2 separate regions of the Homo sapiens genome follow, and region 2 is linked to region 1. The links are contacts of gene promoters, found by promoter capture Hi-C in human tissues and cell types (Jung and others, 2019). All regions are on one chromosome and are shown on one strand. The core of a region is centred on a gene start or on the middle of the fragment in contact, and the rest is flanking DNA. Distances in the headings are between cores, read along the strand shown. Region 1 holds the start of SLC22A8 (solute carrier family 22 member 8). Region 2 has its middle 19 kb from the start of SLC22A25.

Region 1 (7,733 bases), core at 2,070-4,569:
CCAGTGTGGGCATTACTGACTCCAGCAAGCCCGCCTCAATCCTCACTCCAGGCTGGTTAGATAACCCTCCCCTGGGCCTCAGAGCACTCTGAGTGTACAAAGCGCATATTCATTCATTCCACAGAACACCTCCTCTGTACCAGGCACTATTCTAGCTGCTGCAGATAAGAGTAGTAAACAAAGCAGCAGAAAATCCCTGCCTTGGGAAACGTGTGTATTCCACCAAACTGCCCATGATCCTTGAGAGCGGGTCTGCGTCTCGCTGGTGGTGTGCTCCTGGAGGGAACGCAGGGCTAGCGGCTCTTCGACTTTATGTCCTCAGTATTATGCACTGGGTGTCAATAAATGGATACTTGATGGGTTTCAGGCATTATGCTTGGTGCTGGGGGGAGAAAGTAGCAAACATGACAGGGAGGAGATATAATCTAGGTATATGAGAGCAGCAAATGTCATGGTGTGGAGGGCAGGTGTGTGTGTTTGGGTCCTGAATCTGCCACTTATTAGCTGTGTGACCTCGAGCAAGCTACTTAACCTCTCTGTGCTTCAGTTTCCCCATCTGAGAGAGAGAATTACAATACAAACTATCTTACAGTGTGTTCAGGAAGGTTAAAAGTGTTAATATCTGTGAAGCTCTTAGAACAATGCCTACCACATAGTAAGCACTTTATATAAAAATATTTGTTAAACAAATGAATAACAATCACACAGACTCTGAACATAGCCCTAAATTCAAATCCTGCCTCTGCCAGGTTCTAGCCGTGTATAACATGGGAAGGTCATGGAATCAAGCTGAGCCTCAGTTTCCTCATCTGTGAACTGGAGATAATACTTCTCTTAAAGAGATTACATCTCCTGGGCCTCCAGGAACCCACAGATGTATAGTGCTTGGCACCAGGTAAGGGCTTTGCAACGAACGCATCTCTTCTCATGAGGCAAAACAGGCTCCTGCCCTTGAGGGGTTCATGGTACCCAAGGGAGGATGAAAACACTGGTCTCTGCTCACTGCTCAGACGCCACCTCCTCCATGAAGCCTCCCTTGAATCCAACAGTTTCTCCCTCATTTGGACCCCCGTAAACATTTGTCTCCCTGTACTTCTTATGGGCTTTAGCTGTAAATTCCAGTTCTGAAACTGACCAGCCATGTGGCACTGGACAATCATTTCCTTTCTCTGGGTCTTAGGTTTTTTATTTTTAAAAATTCTGTAAGGGGAGATAGAAATCACCTTCAACGGAGCATCACGTTGGAATCAAACAAGACAGTGTCTACAAAGCCCCCAAATGTGCCTGTCAGTTAGTGACGCCCAATACATGCCAATCCCCAATTTCTCATCTTCATCCTATCATAGGCTCCTGACTGGCCTGTCAGTTCATTGAAGAGTCTGATTTAACTCTGGATTTCCCCGAGGTGGCAGGTGAGAGAGTCAATGAATCAGTGAAGGGCTGTGGGAATGAGAGGTGAACCCATGAGTGACTGTGTGTGTGTGGATGAGACATTTTCTGGGTCTGCTGTGGAGTGTTTCAAGCCTCCCCTCTGTGCGGTCCCTCCTCCACAGCCCTCCCACCTTGGGGTCTTTGCACAAGACGGACTTTTCCTCCTTTCCCTCACTGCCTGTTTGGCCCTTGACTGATGTTTATATCTCAGTTCCAGGGGCATTTCTGTAGGGAGGATTCCTTCAACACCCATTCCCCACGCCCTCACTCTCACACCCACCCCAGAGGTCGGTCATAGTGCAAGGTCACTTTGAAGTTGCAATTTTACACTTATTTGTGTGGTGTTTTCCTTAATGGGTGCTATCTCCACCGGGCTGTAGACCCCCTGGGAGCAGGCATGGTGCATTTTTGTATTCCCAGAGCTTAGCTCTGTGCCCGTCACAGAACAGGCCCTCAGTAGCAGTTTGTTGAAGCACTGCTTGGACTCTGAGTGGGAAGAAGCCAAGGGTCTTGGTGCATGAGCTTCTGCACTCAGGTCCTTCCTCTTTGCCTGCCCAGTGACCTGTCCTCAGTTCCTGGGAACACCAGACCCCAGCCTCCTCTGCTGCCCACCAGCGGTGCAGGGTATGGGGGTACGTGGGTAAGTGGAGGGAGAGGGTTTGCCCAGGCATACCTCTGTCACAATGGAGTCCTTGGTGCTGTTGTAGACCCAGCCATCCAGGCATGGCTCCATGGCCCTCTGGGTGTCATTGGGCAGGCTGGCATTGGGCGGATGTACAAAACGGAGGCACCTCTCAGGCTTCCCATTTGGGCCCATGGGGAGCACCCAAGGCCCTGTGGAGGCATTGTGGGGCGGGCGACAGTGGTGGACAGGGGTGGCGGCTGTGAAGATCTGCAGCAGGTTGTGGTTGGCCATGTTGAGGATCGGGAGGCCCAGTATGGCTACATGCAGGAACTGGAAATGGCCCATGCTTCCCACACGGTCCAGGATCTCCGAGAAGGTCATGGCACTGGGGCAAGACGAGCCAGAGCTGTGGGCAGGGCATAGGCCAGGGAGAGGTATATTTGTGCCTGGTAGTGCGTGGGTCTATGGAACGATATGTGGGAGGGTGAACCAGGTGGATATGCGAGCACAGGTGTGTGGAGCAGAGCATGTGTAAGTGTGTAAAGATGTGGAAGCTCAGGCATGTGGAGCCGCAGATTCTTGTGTGGATGTCTGAGGAAGAGCCCAGCTGCACGGAGGGCTGTGGGATCAAAGGTGGAAGTGTGTGTCCAGGTGTGTGGACACAAAGGTATCTATGGGTATGTGCTCATTTAGGCTGCAGCATAAGGACACAGCTGCGTGAGCTCGGGTATGTGTTGTGAGCGTGTGCACCTGCGGACACGAGCATGTGTGTGCTCAGCTAGGCTGGTTGCACATGCTGCATGCATGGAGCAGTGCAGGACACGTAGCAGGGACCAAGGGGCCCAGCCTTGGATGTTGGCTACAAAGGACAGATTAGAGGGTGGGTGGTGAATGTCCCCAGTTGCTCCAGGCAGATACACAGGGTTAGCAGAGTTCAGGTTGTCTGCTGGGAAAGGCCTCCCCAAGCTCAGAGCCTCCTGGCTTCTGGCAGTTCCCTGGGGCTGGGCCCACCATGCTGGAGTATCTGTAAGAGCCCGAAGCAGGTCTCAGAGGGCACTAGGGGCTTGGCTAGTCGCAAGTGGAGCCTGGCCTTGGGAGATCCCTGGGATTCCTAGGTGCCTGGGCTGGGGAGGCCCTCCATCCCTCCTCACCTGGTGGCCGGGTCTGGATCCGATGGGGCTGGTGATCAGTGTAGTTGAGGTCCCTGCTCTGTCCTAGGGGCCGGCAGCTGCTGTAGTAGGGCAGCTCAGCTCTAACAAGCTGTGTTTGTGCCTCCCCCAGGGGGGCTTATATAAGGCATAAGCTGTTTCCCGGGCTAATGTTTGACTTTCTTTTGCGGATTAACGTCACTGGCAGGGAGAGTGCTGTGGACCCACCAAGCCCAGCTCTCCTCAAAGGGCTGCCTCAGCGAGGGCCGCTGGGGGTGGGGCAGCGTGGCTGAGCCTAGCAGGGCTGCTGGCTGGACACCACGGGCCCAAATGGGAAGTCTGAGACGTGCCTCCGTTTTGTACATCCGCCCAACGCGAGCAGCCCTGGCAGGCTCACCGAGGGGAGATTCTGGGAAGGAATCTGGCCTGACCTCTGAGGGTTCAAGGTCCCTCTCAACTGATGTTCAGAGGACTTGATGCTGAGGACAACCAATGGGAAAGGCACTGGTGCCCGTAAGCAGGCAGCATTCTCCTGTGTGCTACCTCCCCTGCCTGGCACCTCCCGAGTAGGGGAAGGGGATTTGCCTCTCAGGAAGTGTTAGGGCACACCCAGACAGAAAATGTCACTTTCATCTATCCCTGAGGACGCAGGGCTGCCATCTCCTGGGCCCCTGGGGCAGCCAGGACCTCCGTGTCTGTGTCTCTGACACAGGTGAACTGCCCCCTTCCATCCCACCCTCAATGGACAGGCTTCTCTCCTGATCAGCCGCTTCCCCCTGGGGACCAAATGTAGTCCCTGCTGTTTTATTTTCACTCTGAATATTATTTTAATTATATAATAATGTGTGTTTCCTGCATAAAACATGGGAAATACAGACAAGCCAAACAAAACAAATCAAAACAAAGCAAAATGTCCAGTCTCACCTGAGAGCCTATCTGTTCTTCTGGTCTTTTCCTCAGCAGAGACTTCAGTCTAAGACCTCAACTTCTAGCCACCAACATTAGGCTCTTTTAACCCTCACGGCAGCCCTGTGACTAGTCTAGCATTAATAATTAGGGAACTGAGGCAAAGGGAGATTAAGTGACCTCCTCACCATCCCCCAGCCAGGAAGCACAGGGCAGGGGCAGGGTGGCCCTAAGCCTATTCCCTCCCTTAGAACCAACATTCTCTACGAAGCCTATGGGGGCACTGTACTATTAATATATTGCCTCTCCCTTAAAGAGCCACCTAGAGGTCTGGGCGGGGTGGCTCAAGCCTGTAATCCCAGCAGTCTGGGAGGCCAAGGTGGGTGGGTCACGAGGTCAGGAGTTCCAGACCAGCCTGGCCAATATGGTGAAACCCCATCTCTACTAAAAATACAAAAATTAGCCAGGCATGTGGCACGCGCCTATAGTCCCAGCTACTTGGGAAGCTGAGGCAGGAGAATCACTGGAACCCAGGAGGCAGAGGTTGCAGTGAGCCAAGATCGTGCCACTGCACTCCAGCCTCGGTGACAGAGCAAGACTACGTCTCAAAAAAAAAAAAAAAAAAGTCACCTAGGCTGGTCTTCAACATCACTCCTGCCTGCCTTTACCTCTCTGTTCCTACCTCCAGAAACCCCTGGGAGCTGCCCCTTCCCACCTGCTCTAGGGGCTAGGGAGGGGCCCCTTTAGGGCTCCCCTTCTTGGTTGGGGAGGGCTTTCCATTCTCCTCCTGGGCCCCCCTCTCCACCAAGGCAGTATCCAGCCCCCAGGGTCCAGACTGAGCTTCCCTCCTACCGCAGGGCAGGGTCAGCTGGTCAACCTGGGTCCAGCCCTGCCCCTCGGCTTCCCACCTGGGCCCAGCAGTTATTGATGTTCTCAGAGTGGCCTGAGGCAGGGCGAGATCTGGAGTCATCAAAGGAAGATTAAATTATGCTCCAAGGCAGCCAAGGGGTTGTTTTAGGAAGATTTTCGACTGTGAGGCTTGCAGTGAGCTGGGCTGCCGCCCTGAGCTCCCCCTGTTCTGGGCATTTGGCCTCTTGGAGATTTTCTGGTTCCTAATTGGCTTGGGTTATCCATCTGTTCCTGTCCTAGTGGAATGTTGTTTAAAGGAGCCTGGTGACTCCCCGCTGAGGCTGCTGGAGTTAAGCCAGAGTATACATATCTGAACTGCCCAGCCAGGGGCAGCTGCATCCGGGCAGCGCCCCCCAACCCCTAATGGATGTGATTGGATTAGTGATATCAGGAATTGTGTGATGCACTTGTTATATGACCTTGGACAAATCACTCTCTCTGTGCCTCTTGTTTCTCTTCATTAGTTAAGTGGCTTTTTAAAAAAAAGCACCAGAAACCTTTTATTCAAACAATATATTGGGTTCATAAGATCAATGTATAAAGCAGACAATAGAGGTGCTCTGGCTAAAGTGGGGACTGTGGGTGTGGGGGGATGCTTCAGCTAAAGTGGGAGAGAAAGTGACCAGAAGAGCCCTGCCTCCGTCACGCTACCTCTCCCTCCGTCACCCTACCTCTCCCTCCGTCACCCTTCCTCTCCCATCCCACACGCTTCATCCTTCCCTTTGGGATTCTCTGCCCCAGGCAGTCCCTCCCCAAGTCAAATCCACCTTATTGGGGGATCTATCACTTTTTACATGCTGTGATCCTAAATTCAATATGTTCAAATTAACTTTTTTTTTTTAAAGACACTATAAATTTGGGAAATCTTACATGCTAGATGCATTTTTAATTTGGGATATGGAAATAGATTTTCTTTCTCTTTTTCTCCTTCCCTCTCTCCCCACTCCCACCCTTCCTCCTCCCACCTTCTCTCTTTTCATCTTTTCTCTGAACTCTTCCAGGGGCTCCTTTAAGCTGACCTGGGTTCAGTCTCCCCTGTTCTCTGCTGGGTCCTGGCATGGACCTGTGTTTTGAGCTGGAAGGGCCTATGAAATCATCTAGTCCGACATTCTCATCTTATCTATGGGAAACTGAGGTGCAGGGAGGGGAGCAGCACTGGCCTGATTCCCCGCTTCCCTGGCACCTCCACACAGTGGACACTCTTTGAAGTCTTAAATTCACTCAGGCAGGGGAGGAGCTATGACAAGTCTTATCTTCAGAAGCAGTAGGTGAGTCTGGGCATTCTGGACAATTCCAGGTGGCCTCATGGAACTTTCTGTGGGCCATCAACCCTCCTAGCTGCTCACTCATTTGTCTGTCCATCTGCCCATTCATCTGTCCATCCGTTCATTCATCCATCCATCCCTCCCTCCATCCAATGTGCGCCATGGGCTTGTATATCTGAGGCCCCGTTCTAGGAGCTATGGTGCCTGCCCTACCCTCCAGCCTCAGAGGAGGCAGCCACCCAGAAACAATCACAGCATGAAGGAGATGACCTCAATGTCATGGGAGAAGTCCATACATTCCAGGGGTCAAAGGAGAGGGTAATAATGACCAGGTTTGGGGAATGGGATCAGGGTGGGCTGCCTGGAGAAGGTGGCCTTTACACTGAACTTGGATGTGGAGGGTGGGGATCAAAAGATAAAACCGGAGAGGGACCTGCCAACCCAGGGATGTGAGTGTAAGGTGTGTTGGGGGGAAATGGGAGGTAAAATGGATGAAGCAGCTTGGGCAGAATTTCTCTTCCATCCAGGGTGGTGGCCTTGGTCTCAGGGGCTGGGACATCTCTGCGATAGTCTCAGAGGGGCCGATAATCCCCTGGGCTTCTCTGTCCTCCTGGGGGTGGGAGTGGGGAAGCTCCTGAGGCTTGTGACCCGTGAGGCTCCAGGGGCTCACCGAGTCACACTCAGTGGTGCCTAGCCTTACTTTGGGCAGATTCTGGGTCTCTCACCCATCATGAAACTTCCATGGGGCCATTTGTGCCCCTGCTCCTGCTGTGGCTGCTGCCTGCTGGCTGCCCACTCACCACCCTCTCCAGGGTGGTTCCAGGCAGTTCTGCAGCACGTGTGGGCCCCTGTCCTGCTCCCCAGACTGCAGTCCCTGGCAGGGATGGCGAGACATTCCGTAAATTCCCAAGGGCCAGGAGCTATTCCTCTCTGGTGGCTGACTGGGGGCCTCTCAGCCCGTGGCTTCGTCAGTGACTTATTAGGGACTCCAGATTCAGCCCCTGTGCTTGGGTGGTTCTAACAGATTTGGTGGCCTCTGTATGGTGGTTTCAGGCTTGACCTGCCATGGGATGTCCTCTGCCCTCAAACCCCAATCTCTCTCTCCCTTCACAGGCTGATTCTAAAGTTTCCTTTATGGGAGTGAGGCAGTTCAGGGAATGAGGATTCTGCAGGCCTGAATTTTTTTCTTTTTTTGAGGGGGAGTCTTGCTCTTGTTGCCCAGGCTGGAGTGCAATGGCTCAATCTCCGCTCACCACAACCTCCGTCTCCCAGGTTCCAGTGATTCTCCTGCCTCAGCCTCCCGAGTAGCTAGGATTACAGGCATGCGCCACCATGCCCAGCTAATTTTGTATTTTTAGTAGAGACGGGGGTTTCTCCATGTTGGTCAGGCTGGTCTCGAACTCCTGACCTCAGGTGATCCACCTGCCTTGGCCTCCCAGAGTGCTGGGA
Region 2 (7,733 bases), core at 2,293-4,792, 250 kb after region 1:
TGTGGGCATTTAGTGCTATAAATTTCCCTCTAAAGAGTGCTTTAGTTGTGTCCCAGAGATTCTGGTACATTGTGCCTTTGTTCTCATTGGTTTCAAAGAACTTATTTGTTTCTGCCTTAATTTCATTATTTACCCAGTAGTCATTCAGGAGCAGTTTTTTTTTTTTTTTCAGTTTCCATGTAGTTGTGTGGTTTTGAGTGAGTTTCTTAATCTTGAGTTCTAATTTGATTGTACTGTGGTCTGAGAGACTGTTTGTTATGATTTCTGTTTTTTTGTATTTTCTGAGGAGTATTTTACTTCCAATTACGTAGTCAGTTTTAGAATAAGTGCGATGTGGTGCTGAGAAGAATGTATATTCTGTTGATTTTGGCTGAAGAGTTCTGTAGATGTCTATTAGGTCTTCTTGGTCCAGAGCTGAGTTCAATTTCTGAATATTCTTGTTAATTTCCTGTCTCATTGATCCATCTAATATTGACAGTGGGGTGTTCAAATCTCCCACTATTATTTTTGGGAGTCTGAGTCTCTTTGTAGATCTCTAAGAACTTGCTTTATGAATCTGGGTGCTCCTGTACTGGATGCATATATATATTTAGGATAGTTAGCTGTTCTTGTTGCATTGATCCCTTTGCCATTATGTAATGCCCTTCTTTGTCTCTTTTGATCTGTGTTAGTTTAAAGTCTGTTTTATCAGAGACTAGGATTGCAACCCCTGCTTTTTTTTTCTTTCTTTCCACTTGCTTGGTAAATATTCCTCCATCCCTTTATTTTGAGCCTATGTGTGTCTCAGTATGTGAGATGGGTCTCCTGAATACAGGACACTGATGGGTCTTGACTCTTCATCTAATTTGCCAGTCTGTCTTTTAATTGGGGCATTTAGCCCATTTACATTTAAGATTAATATTATTATGTATGAATTTGATTCTGTCATTATGGTGTTAGCTGGTTATTTTGTCCATTAGTTGATGCAGTTTCTTCATAGATCGATGGTCTTTACAATTTAGCATGTTTTTGCAGTGGCTGGTACTGGTTGTCCCTTTCCATGTTTAGTGCTTCCTTCAGGAGCTCGTGTAAGATAGGCCTGGCATAGACAAAATCTCTCAGCATTTGCTTGTCTGTAAAGGATTTTATTTCTCCTTCACTTATGAAGCTTAGTTTGGCTGGATATGCAATTCTGGGTTGAAAATTATTTGCTTAAGAATGTTGGATATTGGTCCCCACTGTCTTCTGGCTTGCAGGGTTTTTGCAGAGAGATCCACTGTTAGTCTGATGGGCTTCCCTTCGTGGGTAACCCGACCTTTCTCTCTGGCTGCCATTAACATTTTTTCCTTCATTTCAACCTTGGTGAATCTGACAATTGTGTGTCTTGGGGTTGCTCTTTTCAAGGAGTATCTTTGTGGTGTTCTCTGTATTTCCTGAAGTTGAATGTTGGCCTGCCTTGCTAGGTTGGTAAAGTTCTCCTGGATAATATCCTGAAGAGTGTTTTCCAACTTGGTTCCATTCTCCTTTTCTCTTTCAGGTATAGCAATCAAATGCATGTTTGGTCTTTTCACATAGTCCCATATTTCTTGGAGGCTTTGTTGGTTCCTTTTCATTATTTTTTCTCTAATCTTGTCTTCACACTTTATTTCATTAAGTTGATCTTCAATCTCTGATATCCCTTCTTCTGTTTGATTGATTTGGCTATTGATACTTGTGTATGCTTCACGAAGTTCTCGTGCTGTGTTTTTCACTCCATCAGCTCACTTATATTCTTCTCTAAACTGGTTATTCTAGTTAGCAGTTCCAGTAATCTTTTTCAAGGTTCTTAGCTTCCTTGCATTGGGTTAGAACATGCTCCTTTAGCTTGGAGGAGTTTATTATTACCCACATTCTGAAGTCTACTTCTGTCAATTTGTCAAACTCATTCTCCACCCAGTTTTGTTTCCTTGCTGGTGAGGAGTTGTGATCCTTTGGGGAAGAAGAGGCATTCTGGTTTTTGGAATTTTCAGCCTTTTCGTGCTGGTTTCTCCCCATCTTCATAGGTATATCTACCTTTGATCTTTGGCATTGGTTTCTGAATGGACATCCTTTTTGTTGATGTTGATGCTATTTTTTTCTGTTTGTTAGTTCTCCTTCTAACAGTCAGGCCCCTCTGCTGCAGGTCTGCTGGAGTTTGCTGGAGGTCCACTCCAGACACTGTTTGACTGGTATCACCAGTGGAGGCTGCAGAACAGCAAAGATTGCTGCCTGTTCCTTCCTCTGGAAGCTTCATCCCAGAGGGGCACATACCAGATGCCAGGCGGAGCTCTCCTGTATGAGGTGTCTGTAGCCCCTGCTGGGAGGTGTCTCCCAGTCAGGAGACATGGGTGTCAGGGACCCACTTGAGGAGGCAGTCTGACCCTTAGCAGAGCTAGTGCACTGTGCTGGGAGATCTGCTGCTCTCTTCAGAGCCTGCAGGCAGTGGCGTTTAAGTCTGCTGAAGCTGCGCCAACAGCCACTCCTTCCCCCAGGTGCTCTGTCCCAGGGAGATGGGAATTTTATCTATAAGCCCCTGACTGGGGCTGCTGCCTTTTTTTCAGAGATGCCCTGCCTGGAGAGGAGGAATCTAGAGAGGCAGTATGGCTATAGTGGCTTTGCTGAGCTGTGGAGGTCTCTGCCCAGTTGGAACTTCGCTGTGGCTTTTTTACACTGTAAGGGGAAAACCAACTACTCAAGCCTCAGTAATGGCAGATGCCCCTCCCCGCACTAAGCTCAAGCTTAGTTCCCAGGTCGACTTCAGACTGCTGTGCTGGCAGGGAGAATTTCAAGCCAGTGGATCTTAGCTTGCTGGGCTCTATGGGGGTGGGATCCATTGAGCTAGACCACTTGGCTCCCTGGCTTCAGCCCCCTTTCCAGGGGAGTGAATGGCTGTCTTGCTGGCATTCCAGGCACCACTGGGATATGAAAAGAAATTCCTGCAGCTAGCTTGGTGTCTGCCCAAACGGCCACCCAGTTTTGTGCTTGAAACTCAGGGCTCTGGTGGTGTAGGCACCCTGGGGAATGTCCTGGTCTGTGGGTTGGGAAGACCATGGGAAAAGCATAGTATCTGGGCTGGGACTGTTCCTCATGGCACAGTCCCTCAAGGCCTCCCTTGGCTAGAGGAGGGAGTTCCTTGACCCCTTGCACTTCTGGGGTGAGGCAATGCCCCACCCTGCTTCGGCTCACCCTCCATGGGCTACACCCACTGTCTAACCAGTCCCAATGAGACGAGCCGGGTACCTCAGTTGGAAAAGCAGAAATCACCTGCCTTCTATGTTGATCTCACCGGGAGCTGCAGACCGGAGCTGTTCCTATTTGGCCGTCTTGCCAGGTCTGCCCGGTACAACATTTCTTAAGGTCCCAGAAAGGTCAAAGATTCTGTGTATTACTGAGAAACAAAGGGCCTTTAAAAAGATTAAGGACATGCCCCTCAATCAAACAACAGAGGCTCTAGGATACTTAGGTGCACTGTTTCTTCACCATCTCAGCAGAAGCCCAAGGTGAAAAGTTTATCTCAAAGATATTTGTTGGGGTAGATTTTCTCTAATAAGATAAACCACAAAGAGATTCACAGAACATCCACAACTTTTTAAAGAAATCTTTATCAGAAAAATGCTGCCAATTTGACTGCAAGGGGCAAAGACAGTACAAAAATAAAAAGGCTGTGTAGTCCTCAAAATGCTCTGGGTGGGAAGGTAGCTGAGAATACTATTCACTTAGAGGTATGTTCTGTCTTTTAAAAAAAATGTTGGATCCAAGTGGCACGAGGCTGTGGCTGAGAGCCAAATTGCTTTCATTTTTCATGCCTCCAGACCTATTCAAGGAACTTCTAATATTTGCCTAAGTGCACTTCATAATTGCTCTGAACTCCTTGTGTCTCACGTCTCCTCCATTTTGAACGGGAATGTCTACAGTAGTAATTGGATGCTTGTATTATTATTGTGTGTTGAGTGTTTTGGAGACAAGTGTCTTGTCTCTTCAGTTTCACAGATTAACAAATACAAAGATAAAAGCCAGAGAACTCCATGTAAGTAGTCTCACTTACACTTGAACCTCATTTAAATGGTAAGATTCTGGACTTTGAGTGTGTGCTATAATGAAATAATACTTTTCTGGACATTTCACACATGATAATGTAGTACATCAGAGGGATGGAATCATTTGGGACCAGAGGGTCTGGCCACAATCTGCCACAGCTGCTGTTCCATGCTGCGGAGAATTCCTGCTGGTCCAAACTGCCCAGTCTTCCTGGCACCAGCAGGGGAGAACAGCAGACTGGAGCCACAGTGATGGTTGTCTTCTTAGGCAGTCTCTGTCCTGCTGCCACTGGCTGCAACCTGGGCAGCCACCAAGAGCTTGCACAGCTCTGTGCTTGGGTCCCAAGGCCCTGGTGGTGTGGGCTCACGAGGGATCTCTTGATCCATGGGTTGCACAGATCCGTGGAAAGAGCGTGGTTTCTCAGGCAGGGTACCACAATCACTCACTCCCTCCCTTGGCTGGGAGTGGGGGCTCCCCTTACTCCATGCAACTCCTGGGTGGGCCCTCGTTCCATCTTGCTTTTTCTTACTCTCAGTGGATCATGCCAACCGCCTAGTCAGTCCCAATGAGAGAACCTGGATACCTCAGTTGAAGGCACAGGATCCACTCACCATTTTTGCTCTTCTTGGTGGGCGCCACCAACTGCAGCTGCTTCTAATAGGCCATCTTGGCCCCCTCTGCCCATCTTTTTACTGTTAATGGATATTAACTTGGACCTATGACCTGAGAAACCTTATTTATTCACTTTTTAAATTCGAATGTTTAATTAATTCATTAATTCTGCTATTTGAATTAATGGCACAGAGGCCTAAGTCTGAACACAAGGGGAAAATGAACTCTCTAACCCAGAAATATATACAGGTAATATGTAAGTGAGATAGACTCAAAGGTCACAAGTTTTAACTGAGACTATTAGATGGCATTGAGCATCTAAACTCCTCTCAGTGTCCTTGTGGGTGACATGCTTCAGTGACAGCCATGGTTGACTGCCTCCTCCAGAAGGAGCTCTGCCAGGACACAGAAAGCCCTAAATATCTCATCCTTAAGCCAAGTCATCCTGGGTTCTTACTTTGCAAAAATTACCTATTAAAGCTATTCCACAGGATCAGCATCCAGGTTAGAGGTGCAATGTCTTCCAATCCTGCGAGTGCCACAGTGCTTGCACAACCCTCAGATTTTATAATGACTATCCACTGCACATAAGCACTTACACTGCAGGTAGGAAAATATGGCCAGTCTAAAAGTGTCTGTAATGATTTATCTCACAGGATCTAGGTGGCTAAGAATATTTTCAAGGCCAATAACACTGTTTCACAAATTTGTGCTTTCAAACAGGAAGGCACCTTCTGCCTCAAACCGCTTTCCTCTCCCTGTATTGAGCTAACTTCTATATGTAAATGTAAAATCCTGTAAACTACTCTAAAAATCCCTTCTTGAAACTTCTTTGAATCCTATTTAGATGTCTTTTTCTGTCCTTGTTGATGCAGTACAATGAACAGATCATATCCAACTATAATTTCTAATTCAAACACCAAGTATTCTTAATCAGCTGTAGCTTCCTGAAGTCAGAAAGAGAGATCAGCACATAGCACAGTGCAAAGTATACAGTTAGTGCTTACTAAATATTTATAAAATAAAGAAATGAATATATCACCTGAAAAATAGCCCCAAAGAAAGTTAAATGACACTCACCTGTCTGAAAGATGGCCATATATTAGACCTCCCAGCAGTGACCCAGCCCTAAGTAGGGATTGAATCATTAATTTTTTTTTTTTTTTTTGAGACTGGGTCTCACTCTGTCACCCAGACTGGAGTGCAGTGGTGCGATCTCAGCTCACTGCAACTTCCACCTCCCAGGCTCAAGCAATTCTCCTGCCTCAGCCTCCCAAGTAGCTGGGATTACAGGAGTGTGCCACTACCACCCGATTAATTTTAGTCACTGAGATTCACATACCAGGTACCACTAGAAGAGAAGGAAATCAGCATAGCAGAGCTTGAGAAGAGTTTCAGCTCTTTTATGGAAACTGACTCCAAACACTGACATATGTACACAATCCTCAGCTATGCGGGTCCTGCCTCCCTCTCTAGATTCATCTATAGACACTACGCTCTAGTAGCCCAAATTCTAAAACTAAACTTATTTCAGGCTTTCAAATGCAGCTGCCTCTCCCTCTCAATTCCCAGCCTTCCAACAGTCTGTATTCGTGTGTCTACATGTCTTTATTCATTTTCCCCTCAGACCACCTTTTATTGTGTTGTTATACACATTCTTTGGGTATTATAATTAAAAACATATAAGGACACAATTTTTTTAAAAAACTTCAGTTACCTAAATTTAAAAAATATATTAGAAACCCATAATTTTACAGGAAGGCTTTTTTTCATCATGTAGGCCACATGAGGGCCTTGCCATTGACTTCACTTAGCAGTTTATAATTCAACTACTACAATAACTATCTTTTTTTTTGGCCACACATTGAATCGCTTGAAGTGCTTCAAAAATACTGATCCCTGGATTCTGTACTCAGAGGTTACTTGCTGTGGATATCAGTTTTGCAATGAGTATTGAGAACACTAACCTAGCATAATGTTTGCCAAACAGTATTTCAATTACTTTAAACACTGTAGGTCTTTCTCACTAAATTAGACGATATAATAGGAGGTTCATGTTGAGTTTGTTTGGCTCATTCACTCAATACTAATGCGCTTGACTGTATTGTAGAGTTGGTGAGCAATTGCTGCTACCTGCTGAAGGAATGAAGAAAGAGCTGATAACAGTAACCATCTGAGGACTAAGGGTATAAAGCAAGTCTGTTCTTTGTGTTAACTCCAAACATCTTGATCATATAAACAGAAGATCTAAACATGTCCCTTTACATCAGTCACAATGGTGAAGAGGAAGGAGCTTTGGTGGTATACCCAGCCACCAACACAGGGCTCCGTGTTTGGCTCACTCATGTTTGAGAAGGTCACATTCAAGTGAAGGAGATGCCACTGGGGATGGATGAAGCAACGACACTTCTCTGGCCTCAGGTTTGAGTCCAGTGGGATGGAAATCCTCAGGAGGGCAACCTGGCTGAGAGTCCCAGTGTCATTGTCAGAGACGGTGTCATTGTCCAGGATGTGGACCCAGTAGTGATGACCAGGGATGAATGCAATGAAATTCTCCAATAGAAGATGAGGATAATGTATAATGATGGAGATTGTAAGGAAAATCAGATGAAAGATTTGGAATCTCCCCAGGCCACCCACTTGATCCAGGAGCATATCAAAACCCATCGAGACAGAACAGGTGATCCCCAAGAGGAAGCACAATGACTTTGTAGAGATAAGTTCAGAAGAAGAAAGTGTTCCCTTTCACAAAGTCACAGTAGTGCCATGTGGATCCTTACACCATTTTCTTCTCAGTGGGCCCTGTCACACCACTGCAGAAGAGCAATGGAAGGACTTTCCTCAAGTCCTTTGAGTTTAGGCAGCTAGATAGTTTCAGCGAAGTCACAGATATAATTATTTGGCAAAGGTACATCTATCTTTTGACAACTGAATATTCTTAAAGGACTACTCTGTGAAAGATCCTGATCTCTGAGCTTTCTGAGAAGTCAACAGTGGACTTTCAGGTGGATATAATTTCCACACAACCTAAAATACACCTAAAATTATACCTGATCAATGGTATGCCATTCTTTTCAGAAAAGGGA

What was found. The method cuts DNA at HindIII sites, captures the fragments that hold promoters and counts their contacts. A contact is called where the count stands out against the background at its distance.
Region 2: a contact is called between a fragment that was not itself captured here and the fragment with the promoter of SLC22A8 in region 1, in 4 of the 25 tissues and cell types used here (H1 embryonic stem cells, bladder, mesendoderm cells and 1 more).

The regions. Positions count from the first base shown.
Region 1 is chr11:63,012,522-63,020,254 of GRCh38, forward strand. It overlaps SLC22A8 (solute carrier family 22 member 8), which reads right to left and starts at 3,320. Exons shown (of 11, transcript NM_004254.4): 1 at 3,208-3,320; 2 at 2,105-2,462. The coding sequence starts at 2,437. RefSeq lists enhancers at 2,325-3,179, 4,870-5,369. The HindIII fragment of the contact is 24,341 bases long and covers 1-7,733 here.
Region 2 is chr11:63,258,943-63,266,675 of GRCh38, forward strand. No RefSeq gene overlaps it. Among named protein-coding and RNA genes, the nearest start is that of SLC22A25, 19 kb to the left of the region's middle. The HindIII fragment of the contact is 6,692 bases long and covers 197-6,888 here.